Regions from separate parts of the Homo sapiens genome. Here all the other regions are linked to region 2. The links are contacts of gene promoters, found by promoter capture Hi-C in human tissues and cell types (Jung and others, 2019). All regions are on one chromosome and are shown on one strand. The core of a region is centred on a gene start or on the middle of the fragment in contact, and the rest is flanking DNA. Distances in the headings are between cores, read along the strand shown. Region 1 overlaps NUB1 (negative regulator of ubiquitin like proteins 1). Region 2 holds the start of PRKAG2 (protein kinase AMP-activated non-catalytic subunit gamma 2). Region 3 overlaps KMT2C (lysine methyltransferase 2C).

What was found. Contacts are between HindIII fragments. The study calls those that stand out against the background at their distance.
Region 1: a fragment that was not itself captured here is called in contact with the fragment with the promoter of PRKAG2 in region 2 in 1 of the 25 tissues and cell types used here (thymus).
Region 3: a fragment that was not itself captured here is called in contact with the fragment with the promoter of PRKAG2 in region 2 in 1 of the 25 tissues and cell types used here (mesendoderm cells).

Annotation. Positions count from the first base shown.
Region 1 is chr7:151,366,618-151,369,462 of GRCh38, forward strand. NUB1 (negative regulator of ubiquitin like proteins 1) reads left to right here. Exons shown (of 15, transcript NM_001243351.2): 9 at 322-508; 10 at 1,244-1,351; 11 at 2,118-2,270. It also overlaps a transcript of WDR86 not described here. Among named protein-coding and RNA genes, the nearest start is that of NUB1, 26 kb to the left of the region's middle. The HindIII fragment of the contact is 5,819 bases long and covers 1-2,845 here.
Region 2 is chr7:151,875,277-151,878,391 of GRCh38, forward strand. PRKAG2 (protein kinase AMP-activated non-catalytic subunit gamma 2) reads right to left here and starts at 1,839. Exons shown (of 16, transcript NM_016203.4): 1 at 1,231-1,839. The coding sequence starts at 1,344. It overlaps PRKAG2-AS1 (PRKAG2 antisense RNA 1), which reads left to right and starts at 1,766. Exons shown (of 3, transcript NR_038926.1): 1 at 1,766-1,864; 2 at 2,561-2,590. RefSeq lists an enhancer at 582-701 and silencers at 892-1,031, 1,092-1,141, 1,904-2,333. The HindIII fragment of the contact is 16,422 bases long and covers 1-3,115 here.
Region 3 is chr7:152,152,838-152,156,039 of GRCh38, forward strand. It overlaps KMT2C (lysine methyltransferase 2C), which reads right to left. Exons shown (of 59, transcript NM_170606.3): 46 at 3,073-3,202; 47 at 1,430-1,608; 48 at 1,173-1,309; 49 at 1-117. Among named protein-coding and RNA genes, the nearest start is that of GALNT11, 130 kb to the left of the region's middle. The HindIII fragment of the contact is 5,593 bases long and covers 1-3,202 here.

The DNA.
Region 1 (2,845 bases), core at 188-2,687, 510 kb before region 2:
CGTATTTGCTGAGGGCCTCTGAAACAGTGGCCCTGGGTTCTGCTTCCTATCAAGGGGCTGCATGTGTGTCCTGGGGCAAGTGGTGGTAAGCTTTGATTCCTAAGCCCTGATTTCTGATTTCTCTTTCTTTCCCCCATTAGAAGGATGAGATTATAAACACAGCTCCCTTCCTAAACATTAGGATCTCTCTTTTAGAGCAGTCAGCCTTTGAATATATACCAAGAACGGGGAAAGAATTCCAGTCATTCACAAAAAGGTTTCAAATGCTAAAAATGTTTCAAATGCTGCTTGGCAGTGATGTCACTGTCCTTCTCTTTCCAGTGAGTGTTGCAGAGAGCTGCTGGACACAGTGGATAACTACGCCGTCCTCCAGCTGGATATAGTGTGGTGTTACTTCCGCCTGGAACAGCTGGAATGCCTTGATGATGCAGAAAAAAAATTAAACTTGGCCCAGAAATGCTTTAAAAATTGTTACGGAGAAAATCATCAGAGACTGGTCCACATAAAAGTATGTTCCTGGAATTCATCTTATGTCTCGTTGAGTCCATTTCTAGCATTTGTGTTTATTCCTGTTAAAGTATTTGAACTACTGCCAGAAGGTAATTTCATTTTGATAGTAGTATGCAGTATAGTCTTTTTAAACTATATATTTATAAAGTGTTCAATGTTTTACAAATCTGGCTGTCTCTCTTACTTAGCGTGTGAGCATTTAGCCCAAAGGAACATGGTTTGCTAGTCATAGAACCCCATCAGTGATCACCCTGACCAGGAGAGAGCTGCTGACTTCTTTATATCGGTAGAGTCTAATTTGCAAGATGTAAATGCAGAAAATAGACATTTCAGCAGTAATGGTTTACGTGAATGAGTCACAGCTCAAGAGCTGTGGCTCGAGTAAGGATTTTTCTGATTTCCCCAAGTCATCAAAATCCTGCTGATGCAGACTCTCTGATACCTGGTTTGGATTTCTGCATACTTCTCTGCTGACCAGAAGGGCCACTGTGCTGCATGTCTGGAGGCTGGTGCCCTGACACTGACTCTCCTGTGTGGCATGAGGAATGTTATCATACCACAGGGGATGGGGAAGAGGGGGCTTCACTTTTGCCGTCAGTCATAGTGAAGCCATGGACATTTTAATACCTATCATGTTGCCCCTCTGGAGACCAAGGGAATGACAGAGATGAGTATTATAGACCTGTAATTAGAAATAAGGCAATTTTATCCTTTTTTTCTTCAATAATTTTAGGGAAATTGTGGGAAAGAGAAGGTACTGTTTCTAAGACTCTACTTACTTCAAGGGATCCGAAACTATCACAGTGGAAATGATGTAGAGGCTTATGAGTATCTTAACAAGGTAAGAAAAGTAAAGTTGTAACCAATTTTCACCTCCTTTTAAAAAACATTCCCAGAAGTTAAGGATTTTAACTTAGTAGTTTGTGACTTGTGAGAAACATGCCTGTGCTTTCTCCGTGCACAGGAGATGTTGAACCAGAAACATATTTGTATATGTTAGAGTACAGCCAGATGCTGTAATGAGACTTCAAAAAGACAGTGACTTTAATTGGATAGAAGTTTATGGCTCACTCATCTTGCCGTCTAGAGGTGAGCCAGGCCGGAGCAGTGAGCAGCCCGCCAGCCTCAGCGAGGCGTCCTAGGTTGCTCCTGTCAGTGCCTCTTCCAGCCAGCAGAGGGGGCAAGAGAGAGTCCAGAGCAGGCCACTGGAGAGATGACCCCGCAGCTGCACCCAGCGCTGTGGCTGCATGCCATTGACTTCGACTTCACTACCTGGCTACACCCAGCTGCAAGGGAGGGTGAGAAATGCCACGTGCACAGCTGAAATTCGGGGGCTTTTGTTGCAAAAACAAAGTGGTTACCAGTCACTTCTGCAACACCCAGCCTCTTACCTCGTGTTGTGCTGTGGCTAAGTTATGTGAGTAGAGGTAGTGTTGGTCTGTTTCCATTTGTACTTGTTAATAACAGGCCTAGTTTAGAGATTTTATCCAAAATCTGATGCCTTTTAATTCACATTGGATACAATCTAATTTCTTTTAGGCTTTCACTTTGTATTAAGCTTTAAGTATTGCCGTGGTTACATGATTCTTACATTTCCCTGTCTCTAGGCACGTCAGCTCTTTAAAGAGCTATATATTGATCCATCAAAAGTGGACAATTTGTTGCAGTTGGGGTTTACTGCCCAGGAAGCCCGGCTTGGCCTGAGGGCGTGTGATGGGAACGTGGATCATGCGGCCACTCATATTACCAACCGCAGAGAGGTACCCACTTTCACATGCCCTAGCTCTCTTGGGTATGAAAGAACAAAAAAAGATAATCCCACAGGAGTGTTAATAACCAGGAACTCTTTATTACTCCAGATTGGGAAGGAAGGAGAAACTTGTCCTTTTTTTTTTCTTGAGACAGAGTCTCACTTTGTCATCCAGGCTGGAGTGCAGTGGCACGATCTTGGCTCACTGCAAGCTCCGCCTCCCGGGTTCAAGCAATTCTCGTGCCTCAGCCTCCTGAGTAGCTGGGATTACAGGTGTGTGCCACCACACCTGGCTAATTTTTGTATTTTTAGTAAAGATGGGGTTTCACCATGTTGGCCAGGCTGTTCTCAAACTCCTGACCTCAAGTGATGCGCCCACCTCAGTTTCCCAAAGTCCTGGGATTACAGGTGTGAGCCACCGCGCCTGGCCGAAACTTGTCTTTTTCAATTGGATCATTTTTCACATGCTGCAGTCTCCTTAGTTTTGTTTCCTGCTGTGGTGGCAAACGGTCCCCTCTCTCTCTTTCTTTAACACCATAGTGTATTTCTGGAAGTCATTTTAAAAACAAAATTGTTTTTTCATGA
Region 2 (3,115 bases), core at 589-3,088:
CCCGCCCCTGGACTCCACCCTCTTCACCCAAGCGTTAGGCACGTGTGGGCCGGAGTTTACACAGGAGGACCTTAGCGGGGCGTCTAAAAGAAGGGTGGCTCAGCAAACACGGGGCAGTGCGCCCTGGGATTCACAGTGGGAAGTGAGTGGCCTGCCTCGGCCATGCCAGCTGCGCCTGACCCTGTCGGGAAGGATTAGCTTTAATGAGGGGTCCGGACAGCCCATTCACTGCGCACTCCCACCCTGCCCCGGGAGAGCAAAATAACTTTCTCTACGGAGCACTCTGGTGTGTGTGTGTGTGTGTGTGTGTGTGTGTGTGTGTGTGTGTGTGTGTGTGTACACAAACATTTACTTGGTTGGCTGAGGCGGAGGGTGTGACCCAGTGGGCCACACCTCCCACCGCCCTACCCCGCTACGTGGAGGCGAGGAACAGTGGCCGCGGGCTACCGGGGCGCCTTCCGAAAAGAGAACCACTACGCGGCCCGCCGCCCCTCTGGCTGGACAAAGTGAAGCCGCAGGCAGATCCGAGTCGCCAATGTCCTCCCGGGCGGCTGGCGCGGACGGGGCTGAAGTTCAATGCAGCCTGCACGGATTAGGGAGCTCCGAGCCCCCAAATACCACAGAGACCCAAAGTACACTCCCGGGGCGGGGGAAGGGAACGGCGGCAGAGGAGACCCCCGCTCCAGGCCCAGAAACGCCCGGAGAGAAACTGGAGCGGAGGGGGTGCATTGGAAGACGCAGCTACACAGCTCCCCCCAACCCCCGCCCCGCTGCTTTCCCCACCCACCGCCCCTCCCCTCTCCTCCCTCCCCTCCCCTCTCTCCGTCTCCAGCAGCCGAGCGCGGGCTCCACCTCCCCGGAGCGCAGTCCACACCGTCCCTTTTCAGCAAAACAACACAACGCACCGCCCCCCGCACCCGCACCCGGCTGGATACCGGGCTACGCCCAGCCGCCCACCCGCCGCGCCCGGCGCCCCCTCTAGTCTGCAGCCGCCCAGCCCCCGCCCCAGGCGGAGCCCCAGCCCTGGCTGCACGCGGGCAGAGAGAGAGATTGAGCCCCGGCTCCGCCAGCCCAGCTCGGGCCCTGTCCCTCTACCCTTTCCCCAAGCCGCCCGAAGTGACAGGAGGGGCACGCACGGCGCGCGCGGGGCGTCCAGCGTTAACCGCTTCGGCGCCGGGGACGGGAGCGACAGGAGGGCTGGGGAGCAGGGGACCGAGTGCTGGGACTCACCGGAATGTGCACGCGCAGCGAACGCCTCTTCTGGCTGGCATTTTTCTTGCCGCCGCTCCCGCCGGGGCTGGAAACATCTTTTTTCTTCTTGGTGTCCATAACCGCGCTTCCCATAACTCTAACCAGAAGTTGATTCTGCGAAACTCCTCGGGGGTTCGGTCCCCTCCTTCCCTCCCCCGGCCGCTGCCTTCGGACTGGAGCCGCGCGCTCTGTTACACCCTGAAGCCACCTCGTGGGGACTTCCGCGGAGAGGGAGGGTGAGCAGGGAACTCGCGCGGCCGCCGCCGCCGCCGAAGCGCCGAATTCAAGCGTCCTTTCCTACGGAACCCTCGTAGGCAAATCAGTCAAAGCCCGTCCCGGTTCTGGTGTCTCCCCGGGTTACTCGTGGCTGAGGTCTCCCGCTGGGTGACAAAGTTTTCTTCCTTTTGCAAAGCTAAGAAACATTTTCCACCCTCTCGGCTCCTCCCACAGATTCCCAGAGGTAATCTGAAAGGCAGGTGCAATTAAAACCAGCAATTTGGAAAACAAGCCTCCTATGCCTGTGCCCAAGTGGGGAATCTGGAACCAGTAAGCCCGTTCGTGCATAAATGTAATCCTCGGCCGCAGAATAAACCAGCTCGGAGCCTGCAGCTGGGTCCGTCCTCCTTTCTGGGCGAGAGGGAGGGCGGCGGGGGAAGAGGAGGTGCAAGGCGAGCCCTCTGCGCAATTAGGCTACGGGCGGCCGCTGGCAGAAGTTCTGGCGGCGGCGCTCGCGGCCCTGCGCGCCGGAGGGGGCGCCCGGAGTCCAGCGGGCCAAGAAGGGCAGGGCGCCCGCTCCTCGCCCCCCGCCGCGCCGCGGCCCCAGGGGACCGCAAGGGGACAGTGAGGGGCCGGGCCTGGCACCGACGCAAGCTCGGGGAGCGCGGGTGGTGGGAGGCGGCGCGTGTTGAACAGGAAGTGCGCGGCGTGCAGCGCCACCGTCCCGCTCCCCGTCGCCCCACGCCGCCCTCGTCGCCGCGCCCAGACCCCTGCGGCGGCCGCAGCCGCTTGGGACTCGCTGCGAGCTGGTTTCGGATCCATCCCGCCTCCCGGCGTCTCACTGTGTGCCCTACCCTTTGAAACACGCCCCCGCGCCCGCCCTGCCGTAGACCAGGCAGCGAGGAAGCCCACAGTCTCCGGGGGCGCTGCGCGCGAAGTAGCACGTGCTTCTCGAAACACCGCAGCCCCCGGGTCCCGCCCCGCCCGGCGCGCGCACTCGAACCCGCCCAGAGAGCGGTGCGTGGCGCTGGGTGCGAGCAGGGTCTAGCCACCCCCACCCTCACCCCACCCCACCCCACCCTGCTTTTTTCAGGTTCATCAAGGTTTGCGCAGTGGATCCGCGGTAAGTGCGTGTCCCCACGCCGCGGGAAACGTGGGGCTCCTGAGACTGCGGAAAGAATTGGGAGAAGGGGAGGGCTCGAAGACCCGGGCGAGGGTTCCCGGTGCGGCCCAGGTCCTTTAGAGCCCCGGGTGGGCATCCAGTACCGCCTGCTGCCGAGGGCCCTAGAGGGGTTGGGGGAGGGGGCTGGTGTGTCCCCCACCCCCAGATGCGCCCCAGGATGGCGCGACCTCGGCTCCCTGGTGGAAAGTAGGGGGAGTGCTGGCTTGGGGGTCGCTTCCCCTCCTGCTCTAGTTTCTGAGGATGTGATGACCCCAAAGGTCATTGGCGCTCCCAGAATGCTGACGTCAGCTCAGCCGCTCCGAGTAATCAGTAATGCAGGGAGGCCACCCGCAGAAAGAACGCGACAGGGGTCGCTTTGGGGACACCATAGGGCCTTTACTCCTTTTGAGGTGCGTGCTTTCGCAGGACTCCCTCCCCAGAGGAGGAGGCATGATCAGCCCACCCAAAGGATCATCTCTTAGGAAG
Region 3 (3,202 bases), core at 93-2,592, 280 kb after region 2:
TCTGTGGCTACTGACCAAACCCATGGATGGGACATCTGGAGCACTGCTAACCTCATAGCTGTTAGGGATTCGGACGTGAAGAAGGTCGGAAAATGCAGCCACAACACTGCTAATGTTCTAAAACCAAATGCAAATGCTGTATTATTCACCCAGAAGGCAACAGTGAACCACTGAAGAAAAATACACACTTAGGATAAATCCTCTTTGCATGATACATAGATTCTAAGAAAATCCAACAAATTTTATTTAGACTTAAAGAACCTCAGGAAAAAAATTAGCTCTAACGAACTAATATCCAAAAAAAGAAATTTATAAACAGAAATCCTCATAAAGGGATTCCAATTAACATTAAATATCTAGTAACACATTAAACTATTTTAGATATTGTAACATCTGACAGACCCCGTCAGTTCCTACAGGTGGTCAGAAAGCTTACTTCCAGGGGCTTCCCTCCAGCTCTGACACAACCCGTAAGAACAGACAAAGGTCTTGCTACTGCTGTATTTTGTTGATAACCAAAATATCACATCATTGGACTTCTAGTTTGGTCTCTACTGAAATGTCTTCACAGAATTCAGAGTTAAAAAAATAAAAAATCCTCAGGAAATTACTTATGTTTGATATAAGCAGATGCTACTTGAAGAACATTTCTATTGCTTCTGCAAAACTATTACTGTTGATAAAGTTCTTTTTCATTGCTTAATTTTCTTCTCTGTTAACAGTTACAAAGAAGTTTTTTCTGAGATGGACATGATGGCTCACACATGTAGTCCCAGCTACTGAGGAGGCTAAAGCAGAAGGATTACTTGAGCCCAGTAAGTTTGAGGCTGCAGTGAGCTATGACTGTGCCACTGCACTCCAGCCTGGGCAACAGAAGGAGACTGTGTCTCTATTAAAAAAAAAAAAAAAAAAAGAGTTCTCTAAAGTATACATCCTTTAATAAGAAAATGTGAGCTCTAATTTCCCTTTTTACTTGACGTAGGCTGAGACCAATTCAATGACAAACGATGGCACTCAAAGGCAGCTGAGAGGTCTGCAGTGAGCATCAGCTCTGCTCTCTGACCCTTTATCCTCAGTGATCCTGTTTGTGTGTGTTTTATGGTAGACACCTGACCCATCTTTGAAAATTGGGGACATACTGTTTAACATTAAGAAGTCATTTAATCTTTTACCTCAGCAGCTGTAGGATGCAGAGTAATTGCTACAGATATAAGACCTGATCTGGGACCATTTGGGGAAGGACCAAAAGGTGACGCAAAATATAAAGTGCCTGGCTCAGTTTTGATGTCATTCCTTCTTGATTCTGAACCTTTAAAAAGAGAGAAAAAAAAGAGGAAAATAGTGTTAATGGATTTTCAAAATCAAAATATTTACATTAGTAAATTGGCGTAGTGTAAAGGGAAATAATAAGGTTAAGTGTTGTTCTTACTTTTCCCAGCAGTGCTAGGAAGAATTGGAATGATGGGGGACGGCACCGGTTCTGGAGGCTCCTCCTTGACCAATGACAGATCTGGATACCTGCTCACTTCTACCCCAACCACACTCTCAGGAGAGGATGAGGGAACAAAACTGTCAGGAGTATCTCGATCACCACAGTGATCCTGTATCCTGAAAAAACATAAACACACACATCAAAGTCTGCAAATCCACCACTGGGGGCTTCCTGTACCAACCCTGCTGACATCTGTGAATACAGCTGTAAGGATACTCTGGGCAGCACCTATACGATGAGCAGCAAATGAATCAGCTCAGAGCCACACTGGGAAAAAAATACAAGAACAATATTTAGTTACAAAATAATTTAAATGGTATGTTTCCTTTTAACGAAAGCTTCAGCACCAAAGTTTGAAGACCTGCCAAAGAGGAAGATGTTCTGATTAGCATGTAACATAGAGAGCATGAAAGCACCTTTTCAAAATCCCAGATCGTTGAGCCTAGGGCAGCACTCCTGCAGCTTGAAAAGGAAAGAGCTGCTGGTTGGATTTAACAATAAAAAAGGAAAACTTTAAAAAGACAAAAAAAAAAGGAAAGAGAAGTCCAACACATATGCAATGGTCACACCTGCATTCACCTGACTGGGAAAACAGCTGTCCTACTGCTGCTCTTTACACTGGCAAGATGGGAGAAAACTTAGCCATTGACTTGATCGGCCCTTATTTTTCTTAACTGATAAAGTGAGGTGAGAAAAACAAAAGACTGGTCCCTTCTGTTGAGTTCAAGTTTGAGTCTACCAGGCCAATTGTGAGGTCTCAGACTAAGTTCCACAACCCTGTGGAACTGCTGTCTCCCACTCCTCACGCAGAGAAGTAGCTGTCATGCAGGAGACCCAAGAAAGGCTGGCCTACTGAGGTACAGTAGAAAGAGGACCTGGATCCTCAATTGGGACAGATTATTCTCCACTTCGGTCCAAAGTTTCCCCATTAATAAAGTAAGGGACTTAGGTTAAATAAATGTCTCATCAAATAGAGGGTAGTGGGCAGATTTTCCAAAGAAGAGATAATTATTTGATGAAGTTGTAAGAACCCTCTGGATCTAAAGAGTTGGCTAGCGATCATCTACTAAGGGAACTTGATTCTCCCCAATTAGAATCTTACAGTTAAAGAACTGACACAAAGACATCAAACCCCAGACAGTTCTTAAACTCTCTTCCACGACGGCGTTCTCTGATATAGCAACTTCTGCTCTTTCATTTTAGACATCTACAAACAACAATAAACCCAATAAATCACATTAATACCCTTTAAAGGACAATGATTTCTGAAATATGTTGCATGGAGATTTTCCACTACCTTCATGTCTATTAGATTATTTAATTAGATTAAATAATCTAATACTTAACTGTCTATTAGATTATTTAACTCTCTATATGATGTAGGCTTAAAAAAATGCAAACTAATTATGTTTAATGGTAACAATGTCTTATAAACTTTAAATCCTGAAGATTATTCACCAAATTGTACTCTTCAAATGTTTTTACATGCTATTCCTAAAGACATTATGCCACATACATACATTTATTTTTTTTAAAAGAAGAAATAACTAAGAATTATTTGAGAAAAAAATAACCTGTACCTTAATTCTTCCTGATTGTTATGAGGTGGTGTTGGGAGGGAGGCTGGCACATCAACTGTCTTGGGGCCCTGAGCAAGAGCTCGGGCCAACAAGTCGTCCTGGGGTCTGAAGGGCAGCTGAAATGGTTTAG